Linked DNA regions of Homo sapiens: all the other regions are linked to region 5. The links are contacts of gene promoters, found by promoter capture Hi-C in blood cells and fetal thymus (Javierre and others, 2016). All regions are on one chromosome and are shown on one strand. The core of a region is centred on a gene start or on the middle of the fragment in contact, and the rest is flanking DNA. Distances in the headings are between cores, read along the strand shown.

Region 1 (2,700 bases), core at 119-2,618, 1.9 Mb before region 5:
CCTGAGAAAAAACTGGCCCTCCCACCCTAGCCTTTTAATATGCAAATGCAGGGCACCATGATATTTTACACATGTGTGGATATGTGGGGGTGGCCGTGTTGCCAGGCACATGTGGAGGCCAGGGCAAGAATAAGACTGCAGGAATTGCCATGTTTGGGTGGGCCCAGTTTCTAATGGCCGGTATTTGCATATCAAAGCTTGCTGGCCTAGCTTTCCTGCTAGACAAGAAATGTTTCTGGAGTTGCTCTAAAAGAAAAAAAAGAACTTCCCAAGGACCCCTTTTCTTATCTGCTTAAAATAATTTCTTAATAACTCTTTCTTTTTTTTTTTTTTTTTTTTTTTTTGAGACAGAGTCTTGTTCTGTCACCCAGGCTGGAGTGCAGTGGCACGATCTCGGCTCACTGCAACCTCCGCCTCCTGGGTTCACGTGATTCTCCTGCCTCAGCCTCCCAAATAGCTGGGATTACAGGTGCACAACACCACGCCTGGCTAATTTTTTGTGTATTTTTAGTAGAGATGGGGTTTCACTATGTTGGCCAGACTGGTCTCGAACTCCTGACCTCGTGATCCGCCTGCCTCAGCCTCCCAAAGTGCTGGGATTACAGGTGTGAGCCACCGCGCCCAGCTCTTAATAACTCTTATAACAAGAATTATAATTTCCTCCACATCCATCACTGTTGTAGAAGCCTCCATAGCTACCTCCACCACATCTGCTGCTGCTGCCATGACCACCTCCACCACTGCAGCTGCTGCTTGTATGACTACTACTGAAGCCAGAACTGCTGGAACCACTACTTTGTCAATAGTCTCTGGCACCAAATCCTCCACTGAATCTTTTAGATCATGCATGAATACCACCCTTGTAGTGGTGTTTATAAGCTTTATTTTCCAACCAAGCAGGCACTTCTTGTTTAGCTTCTATAAGAATATCCAACAAATCCTTTGTAATATTCATATTTCTTTAATTAAAGAATGAGGTGGCAAGACCCTGGATTCCCACACATCCTGTACAGCCAATACAAGGCACATATTCTTCAATATCACTTGGCAAATCAAAATTGAAGCATGTTTCACATTTGAAATGTCTAGTCTTCATGCTGCCACAGCTGTAGCCACTAGAATTGGGATTTTCCCCAAGCAAAACTGATGAAGGGCCTCCTTCTCGATCTCTCTGTGATTGGTCTCCATGAATACTAGTACAAGGATATACTTCATGGTATAAGAAATTCTCCAGAGAATCTTCTCCCTTTTTGGTCTCCACAAACACTAAAGTCAGTGAATCCTTCCCTGGTGCATTTAAGAGATCAAGCAGAAATGACCGTTTATCTGGCTCTTCCACCCAAACTACTTCCTGTGTGATAGTCTCAGAGGTAGAGCCTACTCTTCCTACAGCCAAAAAGATATATTCATCCAAAAAGTCACGAGCAAGCATCTGTATTTCGTTAGGAAAAGTAGCACTAAACATCATGATGTGATGAATGCCCTTCAGTGGCATAGTATCTTGTTCAAGTATAAGATGTATCTGAGGTCCAAATCCCATATCCAGCATCCTATCAGCTTCATCCAACACTAAGTATTTGCAGAAGTCTAATCCAATCTTTCCTCTTTCCATCAAATCCACTAGACCTCCTGGCGTGGCTACTAACAAGTGGCATCCATGTTCTAAGACCTGAATTTGCTGACCAATATCAGCATCACCATAAACTACACAAGGATGAACTCTAGGCTGGTATGAAAATTTTCTGACTTCCTCATATCTGTACAGCCAATTCTCTTGTTGGGGCTAAAACCCAGGAGATTGAGTATTGTTCATGGCATCCATACCTTCCATTTTCCTTCACAGCCTTCAAAGCTTTTCCTGGACCATCTATATATATCTGACTCAGTACGGGTAAAAGAAATGCTGCAGTTTTCCCAGACCCTGCTTGGGCACAAGACATTAAGTCTCTTTTTTTCCCCTAATAATAGGAATGGCATGTTTTGCAGTGGAGTAGGATGAGTATAGTAAGTAAGCTCTGTAAGGTCCTCTGAGCTGGCCGCACCATGGTCAAGCCATCGTGACATTCCCCCGCCCTTGTGATAATGTACTTTGTGATATTCCCCATCCTTGTGAAGGTAGTTTGTAACATTCCCCGCCCTTGTGACAATACACCCTCCCCGCCCTTGTTAATGTATTTGTAACATCCATCCCCTGCCTGCAAAAAATTGCTTCTGACTCCACTGCCTATCCCAAACCTATAAGAATAAATGATAATCCCACCACCCTTTGCTGACTCCTTTCTTGGATTCAGCCCACTTGCACCCAAGTGAATAAACAGCCTTGTTGCTTACACTAAGCCTGCTCAGGTGGTCTCTTATACGGACACACATAGTATTTGGTGCTGAAGACCCGGGACAGGGGAACTCCTTCAGGAGACTGGTCCCCTGTCCTCATGCTACCTCTGTGAGGAGATCCACCTACGACCTCAGGTCATCAGACCAGCCAGCCCAAGGACCATTTCACCAATTTCAAATCGGTAAGCAGTTATTTGCACTCGGGTAAGCAGTGTTTTTGCTCTCTACCTAACCTCTATTGCCTCCCTTCAATCTCTCTCCTTTCAATTTCAGTTTCTCTCCCTTCCTGGTAGAGACAAAAAGGAGACACACTTTATCTGTGCATTCAAAAACTCCGATGTTGGTCACGGACTTGGGAAGACAGTC
Region 2 (2,700 bases), core at 14-2,513, 1.8 Mb before region 5:
ATATGACTCCTAGCTGTATGCATGTCTTCCTTTGAAAAAATGTCTATGTACTTTTTCATATTTTCAATGTGGTTTTCTCCCCATGAATTTAAGTAGCTTATAAATTCTGGATATTAGAACTTTGTCAGATGCATAATTTGCAGATATTTCTCCCATTCTGTACATTGTGTTCACCATTGATAGATTCTCTTGCTGTGCAGAATCTCTATAGTTTAACTAGGTTCTATTTGTCAATTTTTGTTTTTGCTGTAATTGCATTTGGAGTCTTCATCATAAATATTTTTCAGAACCTATGTTCAGCATGGTATTTCCTAAGTTATATTTTAGCATTTTTATGGTATTATATTTTACATTTAAGCCCTTAATCTATATTGAGTCATTATATGTAATGTAAGGAAGCGGTCCAGTGTCAACCTTGAATATATACGTAGTCAGTTATGCCAGCACCATTTATTGAACAGGAAGTCCTGTCTTCATTGCTTGTTTTGTCAACTTTGTTGAGAAGCAGATGACTGTTGGTGTACAGCTTTGTGTTCTATATTCTGCTCCATTGGCCTCCATGTCTACTTTTATACCGGTACCATGCTGTTATGGTTACTGTAATCTTGTAGAATACTTTCAAATTCAGGTAATGTTATGCTTCCAAGTTTGTTTTTTGTCTAGAATTGCCTTGGCTATTAGGACTTTTTCACTCCATATGAATTTTTAAAGGTTGTATTAATTCTGCAAAGAATGTCATTGGTAGTTTGAATAGCAATTAATGTATAAATTGCTTTGGGGATTATGGCCATTTTAACAATGTCATTTCTTCCTATTTGTGTCATCTATGATTTCCTTCAGTAGTGTTTTGTAATTCTCCTTATAGTGATCTTTCACCTTCCTGGTTAAATGTGTTCCTGGGTGATTTATGCTTTTTGTGGCTATTGTGAATGGGTTTGCCTTCCTGATTCAATTCTGAGCTTTGATGTTGGTGCTGTATAGAAATGCTAAGTTACAGACTGACTTTTTATACTGAAACTTTGTTGAAGTTTTGTATCTAATCTAGGAGCTTTGGGGCTTTGAGGTTTTCTATGTATAAAATCATGTTGTCTGCAGAGATAGTTTTACTTCTTTTCCTATTTGGATGCCTTTTCTATTAACTGATTGCTCTAGCTAGAACTTCCAGTAGTATGTTGAATAGGTGTGGTGACACTGAGCATCCTTGACTTGCTCTGGTCATAAAAGGAATGCTTCCAACTTTTGCCAGTTGATTATGAGGTTGGCTGTGAGTTTGTAACAGATGGGTCATTATTTTGAGATATGTTTCTTCAATGCCTAATTTGTTGAGGGTTCATAACATGAAGTAATGTTAAATAAATAGTTTCTGCATCTATAGAGATGAACATGGTTTTAGCTCTGCTTATGTGATAAATCACATTTTTTTCGTAAGTTCTGTATGTTGTACCAACCTTGCATCACACAAATATAGCCTCCTTAATCATGGGGAATTTGCTTTCTGATATGCAAGTGGATTAGGTTTGCTGGTATTTTCTTGAGAATTTTTCCTTTTAAGTTCATCAAGGATATTTGTCTCAAGTTTGTGTTGTGTCTCTGCCAAGTTTTGGTATCAGGATCATGCTGGCTTCATAAAATGATTAAGGGAGGAGTCCTTCCTCCTTGATATTTTGGAATAGCTTAACTAGGAATTTCACCAGCTCTTTCTTACATATCTGGTTGTATTCAGCCATAAATCCATCAGGTCCAGGTAGGGTTGGTAGGGTTTTTATTACTGATTCAATTTCAAAACTGGTTAGTTATTTCTTGTCTGCTGCTAGCTTTGGAATTAGTGTACTCGTTTTCTAATTCCTCTGTTTGTTATATTAGCTTGTTAAATTGAGATATTGAACTTGTCCATTTCTGCTTTAACTTCATTATTTATGCCAACATAATTAAGGATCAAGTTGCTTAATTTCCATGTAATTGTATAGTGTTGAGTAATCTTCGTGTTGATTTCTATTTTTATTGTGCTCTGGTCCAAAGATCTGTTTAGTATGATTTTGCTGTTATTTGAATTTGGTGAGGATTGTTTTATGGCCCACTGTGTAGTCAACTATAGAGTATGTGCCATGTGCAGATGAGAAGAATGTGTACTTGGTGGTTTTGGGTGGACATTAATATGGATGTCTGATAGGTCCATTTGGTCAAGTGTCAAGTACAGGACTAAAATATCTCTTAGCTTTCAGCCTCAGTGATCTAATAGTGTCAATGGGGTAGTGAAGTTTCCCACTCTTATTGTCTGCTTATCTAAGTCTCTTCATAGGTCTGTAGGAACTTCTTTTATGAACGCGCATGATCCTGTGTTCAGTGCATATATAGTTAGCTCTTGTTGAGTTGAACTCTTCATGATTATATCTTTCTCTGTCCTTATTGACAATTGCTGTTTTAAAGTCTATTTTCTATGAAGTTAGAATAGCAATCTGTCCCTCCTCCTTTTTTCTGTTTGCTTGGTAGAATTTTCTCCATCCCTTTACCTTGAGTCAATGGGTGCCATTACTTCTGAAATGGGTTTCAGGAAGACAGCATACAGTTCGGTCTTTTTTATCCAACTTGCCTCTTTTTATCATTTATTAGGACAGTAGTCTATTTAATTTCAAACGTAACACTGATATGTTTATATTTGATTCTGTATTACTATTAGCTGGTTGCTGGTTAATTGTGCAT
Region 3 (2,700 bases), core at 185-2,684, 1.3 Mb before region 5:
AAAAGATAGCATAGTTCAGAGGATGAACATGACACAGTACTCAAACTTCCAAATAGTTATGGTCCAAGCAAATAAAAATGAGGAAGCACTCTTTAAATCCCGGAGAATCATCAACATTTTTGCCTTGTAGCTGTTATGAAGTCCCTCCCCATTTTATTTTCTGAAATATTCAATTTTTCCTCAAGATTTCAATTTTTTAAAAAACCACCCTGGATAAATTTTAAAGAAATTATGCTCAGCTCCCAAAGTATTAATTTCCATATATATTTAATGCCTGTATATTTCATACTTGGGCATACAAAATCCCTTGGAGGTAAATTATCTCAGAACTGAAAAGCTTTAGAAACCATCTACTCCAAACCCTTCATTTTAGAGATGAAGAAATCAAGGCGCAGAAATGAGAAAAAGCAACCTGACCAAGGTCACAGGGCCAGTAAGAAGCAAAACCGGGACCAGCGTCTAAGAGCCCTGACTCAATCCATTTCTTTTTCTACTTTCCATAGCTGCCTCTCATCCTGAACCTCTAATCGAGTGATATATAAGGAAGGATTCGATAGGAAGAATGGATGGATGAATACGTGGGTGAATGAACATTCTATTATTATTCACAAAATATATCATGTTTCTGTTTTGAAGAATGCAAGCCTAGTTCTTGTCACATGTCACAGCAATTGCTGTTTCCCACAAAGTATCAATCTTGTCAGCAAAAAACCCTCTGGTACATCCTGCAGTTTAGAGACTGTTCACTTGCCAGCATACATACAAGAAAGGAGACTCACCCCTACTCCAATCGCTCTGGCTCCCAAACCCCTAACTTCCCTCTCCTATACTCACTCTTTACCTGGCATTGGTGCATCATATTTACATTCTCCTCACTTCCTTCACACGTATCCACCCATGGTTTCCCCATTTAGACCAGGTGTCCTTTCCTAAGTGTACGCCTCAGTCAATCAGTCAACCCTCCCCCACTCCACAGGCCCCTCGATCACTTCTCATTCCTCTGTTGCCAAATCTCAGGCATTTCAAGTCCCAAGACCCCCTCTCGCTTACACAGTGATGTGGCCGGCACCCCGCACTAATACAGGGTCGGGAGCATATCTCCGCAGATGCTCCTCGCTCACTACCCGAGGCGGGGGCGGCGCTTCCTCCTCCTCTTCCTCCTCCTCCTCTTCTTCCTCCTCCTCCTCTTCCTCCTCTTCCTCCTCATCCTCCTCGTCATCGTCGGGCCCAGATACCGACGACGACGACGACGGCGACGACGACGACGTTGCCGCTTCTTCTTCCTCCTCCTCCTCCAGTTCCGAGATGGTGTCGAACTCCGCCATGTTGGGCAGCAGGATGCTCATCACGTGACCTCGCGATCGCCGCCACGCTCCCGGAGAAGAGTTTGAACCTGCCGAGGTGCTGCAAGAGGAGGGGGAACGAAATGAAGAGAAAGAGGAGGGGTGTAGGGACAGGATTTGAGGAGACGCGCCTGCGTGTTGGGCAGACGGGGGGGTGGGGGGGCGGCTGCTGGAGGCGGGGGCACTAGAGAGGAGCAAAGTCAGTGTACGCTTGCGCAGCTCCAAGGGGAGGGGGCCGCTAGAGGTGAACTCCAAGGAGTTATCCAGGTCCGGTCTGCGGGTGCTCGCCTTAATACTGCTCTCTGAGCGTCAGCTACTTGTATTCGGGGTATCTTCTGATTTTATTGCTTATTAATTAATGCTGGGCATTATTAACCCAACTGCAGGCGGGTGAGAGAAAGCATATTGTATAAAAGTAAGGTTAGAACTTTGTCCAAAATATCTCAAGGTATATACCAATCCCTTACGTTTGTTCAGCATTACAGTTTAAAAGCCTTGCGTCATAACTTTGCCACAATCTTGGGAGGCAGGGTAAGCACTTTTATTAGCATTTTACTTAAGAGGAAACTTTTTACTACTTCTCCTATGTAATACTTAACGGAGGACTTATTAACTCAGGGACTGTGCTAAGTGCTCTGTATGTATATCTCATTTAATCCTCTGCAACCCTATGAGGTATGTATCATGATGATTTTATATTACAGATGGGAAATCTAGGTGCAGAGAAAATAAGTAATTTGTCCAGTGTCAGGGAGCTACTAAATGGGAGACCTGGTTTTAAATTTGGTGGTCTCTTCTGATTCCAGAAGCCCAGTACTCTTAACCAAAGGGCTGTACTGCCTGAAGTTGTTTGGAAAGATTTTGTAGAATGGTGCCTCTTGGGCTCTTCCTTAAAAGATGAATCAGAATATGCATGTTTGAATTTTGGAGTGTTTTTTGGGGGAGGGGGCGGATGGAGGGGGTGAAAGGAGCATTCCAACCTAAGGAAACCTTAATTAACATCATCCATTTTCCAGACACTGAGCTAGACCCTCACATACAATATTTCAGTTAACCCTTAATCCTGAGAGGTAAGTATCATTATATCTATTTTATTACATGACAAAAGTGGGTCTCAGAAGTTTAAGTAATTTATTCAAGTCTATGGTGACCTTTTGTTCAAAATTTTCCATTTTAAATGGTCTATCCTATCTTCTTTACACTCACTAAAATGTTGTGGGGATCACATATTTTGCGTATCTAAATAGTGTGCCAAACTGTTTCATACTTGGCAGCAGCACAAAAATCCATATCATTAAGACAGTAAAGTCACACAGCTGCTAAGTAACAGAACAAACACTGTAATCCAGGCATTCTA
Region 4 (2,700 bases), core at 72-2,571, 1.8 Mb before region 5:
TAGAGAGGGCTGTAAATAGATTTCTGAATTTTTTTAATTCAACAAATGTCAATGACTTATATTCTAGGTACAATAGTCATTATTATATAAATGATGAAAAGACAGATCTCCTCCTGCAAGGAGATTACAGTCTATTAGAATGACAGACAAAATTAAAAAACAACTACAATAATATATATAAGCATTATAATAGAAGCATGTACAAAGAGCAGCAGAACCCTAGAAACGTAACCCAAATCTGCTTAAGGAAATCAGGAAAACCTTTACAAGGAAGTGGCATTTGAGCTAGAACTTGAAAGATGAATAAGAATTTTGTGAGAACACAAGAAGGGGGAAGATATTCCAGTTAGAAAGGCAACTGCACAGAGATTTGCTGCTTTTTCAAAAAGAATAGCATATTTAAGGAACTACAAGCACTGCAGTGGTGCTAGAAGATAAATGGAAAAGAGGTGAAAAGAGATCAAGCGGAATATCTAGACTAAATTATTGAAGCTTGTATGCCATGAAAACTGTTTTACTACTGTAGATGATAATTCAAAATCTATGTGGTAGACAGATCACCCTTGCAGTAGTGTAGAGAACAAGATTGGAGGGGAACAAGCCAAGAGACCAATCAAGTGACTATTGCTATAGTCCACATTAAGGTAGTGAAGGCCTACAAAAGGACAATGGTTATATGGACAGGAATAAAGAATACTGAGGAAAGAGAATAGGCAGAACTTAAGTCTGAATGTTGGAGGGATTATAACCAATGTTTACTGAGAATTTTGCTAAGTACCTTTTTGTTGGTAATACTTCATTTAATCCTTATAATACTCCTAATAGGGATGGAAAGCAGTCCAACATGCTAAAAGCTAATTTGCCAAAGAATAAGTTTGCCATATTTACCAAATATTTGTTTTTGGGAATATTTATCCTGGATATATTTAATAAATGTATCCTGGTTAACTCAAAAAAGAAAGAAGAAAGGACACTGGCCGTAAATAACTACTGTGGTTACACCAGTCCAAACTTCCGGAATATCCCATAAGTCAAAAATAATAATAAGTGAGAAAAACAAGTTGCAGAATAAGTAAAATATAGATAGCATTTTTAAGAAACTTTAATAACATGGAGAATGCCACCTTTTTATTAGTATATAGCTATACAGTAAAAGTATTTTAAAAATGCATGGTAAGGATATATGACTTCAGAATAGAACTTCATGGTGGTATGAGATGGAAAGGTACAAAGCTTCAATTGTATCTATGATGTATTAATTTCTTAAAATCTGAAACAAATATAGTAAGGTATAAGATTTGTTAAAGCAGGGTAGCGGTAATAAGTGTTCAGTATGTCATTCTATGTATTTTCTGTTTGAAATATTTCATTTAAAAAACTCCTTTAAAAACTTTAGACGCTAAGCTTGCTATTTTACACAGAATAAAGTCCAAGTTATCAAGGAAGGTACTCTAGGTTCTGTACACTCTAGACTCAAACTGCTTTTCCTATTGCATCACCTACTGCTCTCCACCTAACATAACCCATATGCCACAGATAAAGTCAATATACCATTCTAGGCCAGGTGCTGTGGGGTCGCGCCAGTAATCCTAGCACTTTGGGGGGCCAAGGCGTGTGGATCACTTGAGACTTGGAGTTCGAGACCAGCCTGGCCAACATGAAGAAATCCATCTCTACTAAAAATTTAAAAATTAGCTGGGGCTAGTGGTGGCACATGCCTGTAATCCCAGCTACTTGGGAGGCTCAGGCACCAGAACTGCTTGAACCAGTAGGCAGAGGTTACAGTGAGCCGAGATTGCACCGATGGACTCCAGCAAGACTCTGTCTCAAAAAAATAAAAATACGGTTCTAAATATGCCAAAAGCCTGAAAAATAAAATTATTTTGCTCTTATTTCCTCTCAGAATATTCTTTTTCCCAATCTGTATCAGGAAAAACTTACACTAATTCTTGAAAGCCAAACACAAATTTTACCACCTCTCTGAAACCACCTTTGAAAACCAAATTCAGATCAGCCTCTGTGTTCCACACTATGTACTTTATTCCTTTACTATTACAACATGTCGCATTGTCAATTTCTTGTTCACTGAAGATAAGGGTTTATTACTGTTGTTGATCTTACCAAAGAACCAGATTTTGGCTTTTTAAAGTTTCTCTATTATCTGTTTTCCACATCATTGATTCCTACTCTATTGTTTCCTTACTTGTACTTACTCCAGGTTTACTTTGCTGTTCTTGTTCTAGCTTCCTAAGGTAGAAACTTTGGTTACTGACATTTAGACTTTTCTTCCTTTATAATAAAAGCATTTAAACTATAATTTGCCCTCCAAGCACTGCTTTAGCTACATTCCATGAATTTTGACATTATATTATCATTACCATTCGATTAAAAATGTCTTCTAATTGTGATTTCCCTTTGACTCATGATCATTTAAACTTGTGTTGTCTAATTTCCAAATATTTGGATCATTCCTAGATATTTTAATAATTTCTATTTTAATTTTACTTCCATTGTGGTGACAGAACATATATAAATTTCAATCATTTTAAATTTACCAGCTGGGCATGGTGGCTCACATCTGTAATCCCAGCACTTTGGGAGGCTGAAGTGGGAGGATCACCTGAGGTCTGGAGTTTGAGACCAGCCTGGCCAACATGGTGAAACCCTGTCTCTACTAAAAATACAAAAATTAGCCAGGCG
Region 5 (2,700 bases), core at 18-2,517:
ACATTTCCTTAAGCTCTAGGCTCTGCCTTCTTTTTAGGCTCTGCATTTGAAAATGACTGTATCTTAGTTGGTGCTTCTGAAGAAATGATGACCACAGCACTACTTCTTTTTTTTTAAATTATTTTTGTCTTCCTTTTATTATACCAAGTATGTGAACCTAGTTACTTATTTCTTAAATAAGAACTTTAATTTTTTTTTTTTTTTTGAGATGGAGTCTTTCTCTGTCACCCAGGCTGGAGTGCAGTGGCATGATCTTGGCTCACTGCAGCCTCCACCTCCAGGGTTTGAGATTCTTGAAGACCCTTCTCTCTTTCTCTCTCTCTTTTTAAGAAAATAAATACAGCATAACGCCCTGTGGAGAAGAAAAAAATTTTTTTTAAAGAGACGGGAGTCTCACCATGTTGCCCAGGCTGGTCTCGAACTCCTAAGTGCAAGTGATCCTCCCACCTTAGCCTCCCAAAAGGCTAGGATAACAGGCGTGAGGCACTGCACCCAGCCTTTTTTTTTTTTTTTTTTTTTTTTGAGATGGAGTCTCGCTTTGCCACCCAGGCTGGAGTGCAGTGGTGCAATCCCGGCTCACTGCAACCTCCACCTCCTGGGTCCAAGCGATTCTCGTGCCTCAGCCACCCGAGTAGCTGGGACTGCGGGCGCCCGCCACCACGCCCGGCTAATTTTTTGTATTTTTAGTAGAGACGGGGTGTCACCATTTTAGCCAGGTTGGTCTCGAACTCCTGACCTCACGTGATCCGCCCGCCCCGGTCTCCCAAAGTGCTGGGATTACAGGCGTGAACCACCGCGTCTGGTCGCTTCTTCAATGTTAGTTTAAATCACAGGGACTATGCCTCCCAGGGTGTTTGAATTCAAAGCACGGTCAGTGCCAGGTACTGGCGATCAAGGAAGGGAAGATATCTGTGGATGCGGGGCAGGGTATGGTTGGGGGACGCAGGCGTTGGAGATCTCCAGGGGTCGCCGCAATGACTGGGATCATATCGGGCAGTCTCCTCCACTCACAATGATGGCACACGCACGCGCGAACGAATTGGCTGCAGCATGGTTTGAATTGGATTGAAACGCGAGGGATCACAGACTGAGGCAGCACACTCCGTGTCTCGAAGGCAGAGATCACCTTCTGCTTCCCGGCGCGCGTAGGCGCAGGCGCCCACCGTCATGGGCGGGGCTCAGGCGGAGGCGTCGCAGCGCGTGGTCGCGGATTGGCCGGCCGCGAGGCCGTCGGTTGGCTGTGTCCCTCTCCACGGCGCACAGAGCATGCGCGGGGCGGGAGTGAGCGAAATTCAAGCTCCAAACTCTAAGCTCCAAGCTCCAAGCTCCAAGCTCCAAGCTCCAAACTCCCGCCGGGGTAACTGGAACCCAATCCGAGGGTCATGGAGGCATCCCGAAGGTTTCCGGAAGCCGAGGCCTTGAGCCCAGAGCAGGCTGCTCATTACCTAAGGTATGTCTGGACCGCTGGGCGGGTCTAGCTAACCGACCTGGCCCAGGGTGGAGGTGGGGTGGCCCCCGGATCCTCCTGGGGACCCGAACTGTTGAGGCGGAGCCTTTTGAGACGCGCGCTCGCGCTCTTCTCGCAGTAGGGTGTGGGAGTCAGCTCTGGATGTTTGACCAGATTTCTAAAACCTGAGGAGACCCCGATGCCTCTTCTTTTGGGCAAATGACCCTCCAGTATGGTCTCCTTAAAAGCCAGAGGAGCCTTAATTAATCAAGCCCTTCTTGATTCTTTTCAGCTTATCAAGCCCTAAGTCTAGGGGATACAGAGATGAGTAAAACAAGGTCCCCGCCCCCAAATTGTTTGTAATCTAGTAGTGGAAACGGATCTGTAAAGCAATAATTACTAGGTTTGATAAGTGCTGTAAGAGGTATAATGTACGTGCAGGGCACAGTGTTGGCATAAAAGAGGGAATGGCCAACTACAAGGGTGGTCAGCTAAGGGATGGCGTGGCAAGAGGAGACATTTGAGCTAGGCGTTGAAAAATGAGTAAACATTCACCAGTTGGCTAAGGGTGGGGGGCGTGGTAATGTTGGGATGAGAATTTAAATTTTTTCTTAAATTGTGGTAAAGTACACATAACATAAATTTTATCTTTTTGTGCAGAAACTGGGTTTTATGAAAAATAAAGTTTATCATCCTAACCATTTTTAAATGTACAGTTCAGTAGTGTTGACTACATTCATATTGTTGTGCAGCCGTCCGTCATCTCCAGAACTTTTCTCATGTGGCAAAACTGAAACTACTCCCATTAAACAAACTCCCCATTTCCCCCTCCCTTCAGCCCCTAGCAACCATTATTCTGTCTCTGTGAATTTTACTGCTTTAATTTTTTTTGAGACAGGGTCTTGCTGTGTCGCCCAGACTGGAATTCAGTGGCCTGATCATAGTTCACTGCAGCCTCGAACTCCTGGGCTCAAGCAGTCCTCCTGCCCCAGCCTCCCTAGTAGCTGGGACTTAAGGTGGGTGCCACCATGTCCAGCCAATTTATTATTTTACTATTGTTGTTTTATATATATTTTTAGAGACAGGGTCTGGCTCTGTCACCCAGGCTGGAGTGCAGTGGCGCGATCTCTAACTCAGCTCACTGCAACTTCCATCCCCCGGGGCTCATGCGATCCTCCCACCTGTTTCCGGAGTAGCTGGGACCACAGGCGCACACCACCACACCCAGCTATTTTTTTTTTTTCTTTTTTTGA

The links. The method cuts DNA at HindIII sites, captures the fragments that hold promoters and counts their contacts. A CHiCAGO score of 5 or more calls a contact.
Region 1: a fragment that was not itself captured here is called in contact with the fragment with the promoter of ERCC6L in region 5 in 3 of 17 cell types (total CD4 T cells, fetal thymus and non-activated CD4 T cells); the score reaches 17.2 in total CD4 T cells.
Region 2: a fragment that was not itself captured here is called in contact with the fragment with the promoter of ERCC6L in region 5 in 2 of 17 cell types (naive CD8 T cells and total B cells); the score reaches 6.3 in naive CD8 T cells.
Region 3: the fragment with the promoter of CHIC1 here is called in contact with the fragment with the promoter of ERCC6L in region 5 in 5 of 17 cell types (activated CD4 T cells, total B cells, total CD8 T cells and 2 more); the score reaches 7.6 in activated CD4 T cells.
Region 4: a contact is called between a fragment that was not itself captured here and the fragment with the promoter of ERCC6L in region 5, in 1 of 17 cell types (naive B cells). The highest score is 6.1, in naive B cells.

Annotation. Positions count from the first base shown.
Region 1 is chrX:74,129,872-74,132,571 of GRCh38, reverse strand. The region is part of intron 5 of FTX (FTX transcript, XIST regulator); the gene reads left to right. It also overlaps the pseudogene DDX3P1. Among named protein-coding and RNA genes, the nearest start is that of MIR421, 87 kb to the left of the region's middle. The HindIII fragment of the contact is 973 bases long and covers 882-1,854 here.
Region 2 is chrX:74,020,067-74,022,766 of GRCh38, reverse strand. The region is part of intron 3 of JPX (JPX transcript, XIST activator); the gene reads right to left. Among named protein-coding and RNA genes, the nearest start is that of JPX, 77 kb to the right of the region's middle. The HindIII fragment of the contact is 3,239 bases long and covers 1-2,700 here.
Region 3 is chrX:73,561,931-73,564,630 of GRCh38, reverse strand. CHIC1 (cysteine rich hydrophobic domain 1) reads right to left here and starts at 1,434. Exons shown (of 6, transcript NM_001039840.4): 1 at 1,051-1,434. The coding sequence starts at 1,346. It also overlaps the pseudogene MAP2K4P1. RefSeq lists a silencer at 1,455-1,514. The HindIII fragment of the contact is 6,151 bases long and covers 340-2,700 here.
Region 4 is chrX:73,991,002-73,993,701 of GRCh38, reverse strand. All of the region lies in intron 2 of JPX (JPX transcript, XIST activator), which reads right to left. Among named protein-coding and RNA genes, the nearest start is that of JPX, 48 kb to the right of the region's middle. The HindIII fragment of the contact is 171 bases long and covers 1,236-1,406 here.
Region 5 is chrX:72,237,594-72,240,293 of GRCh38, reverse strand. ERCC6L (ERCC excision repair 6 like, spindle assembly checkpoint helicase) reads left to right here and starts at 1,267. Exons shown (of 2, transcript NM_017669.4): 1 at 1,267-1,450. The coding sequence starts at 1,383. It also overlaps a transcript of PIN4 not described here. RefSeq lists an enhancer at 1,336-1,485. The HindIII fragment of the contact is 5,695 bases long and covers 1-2,700 here.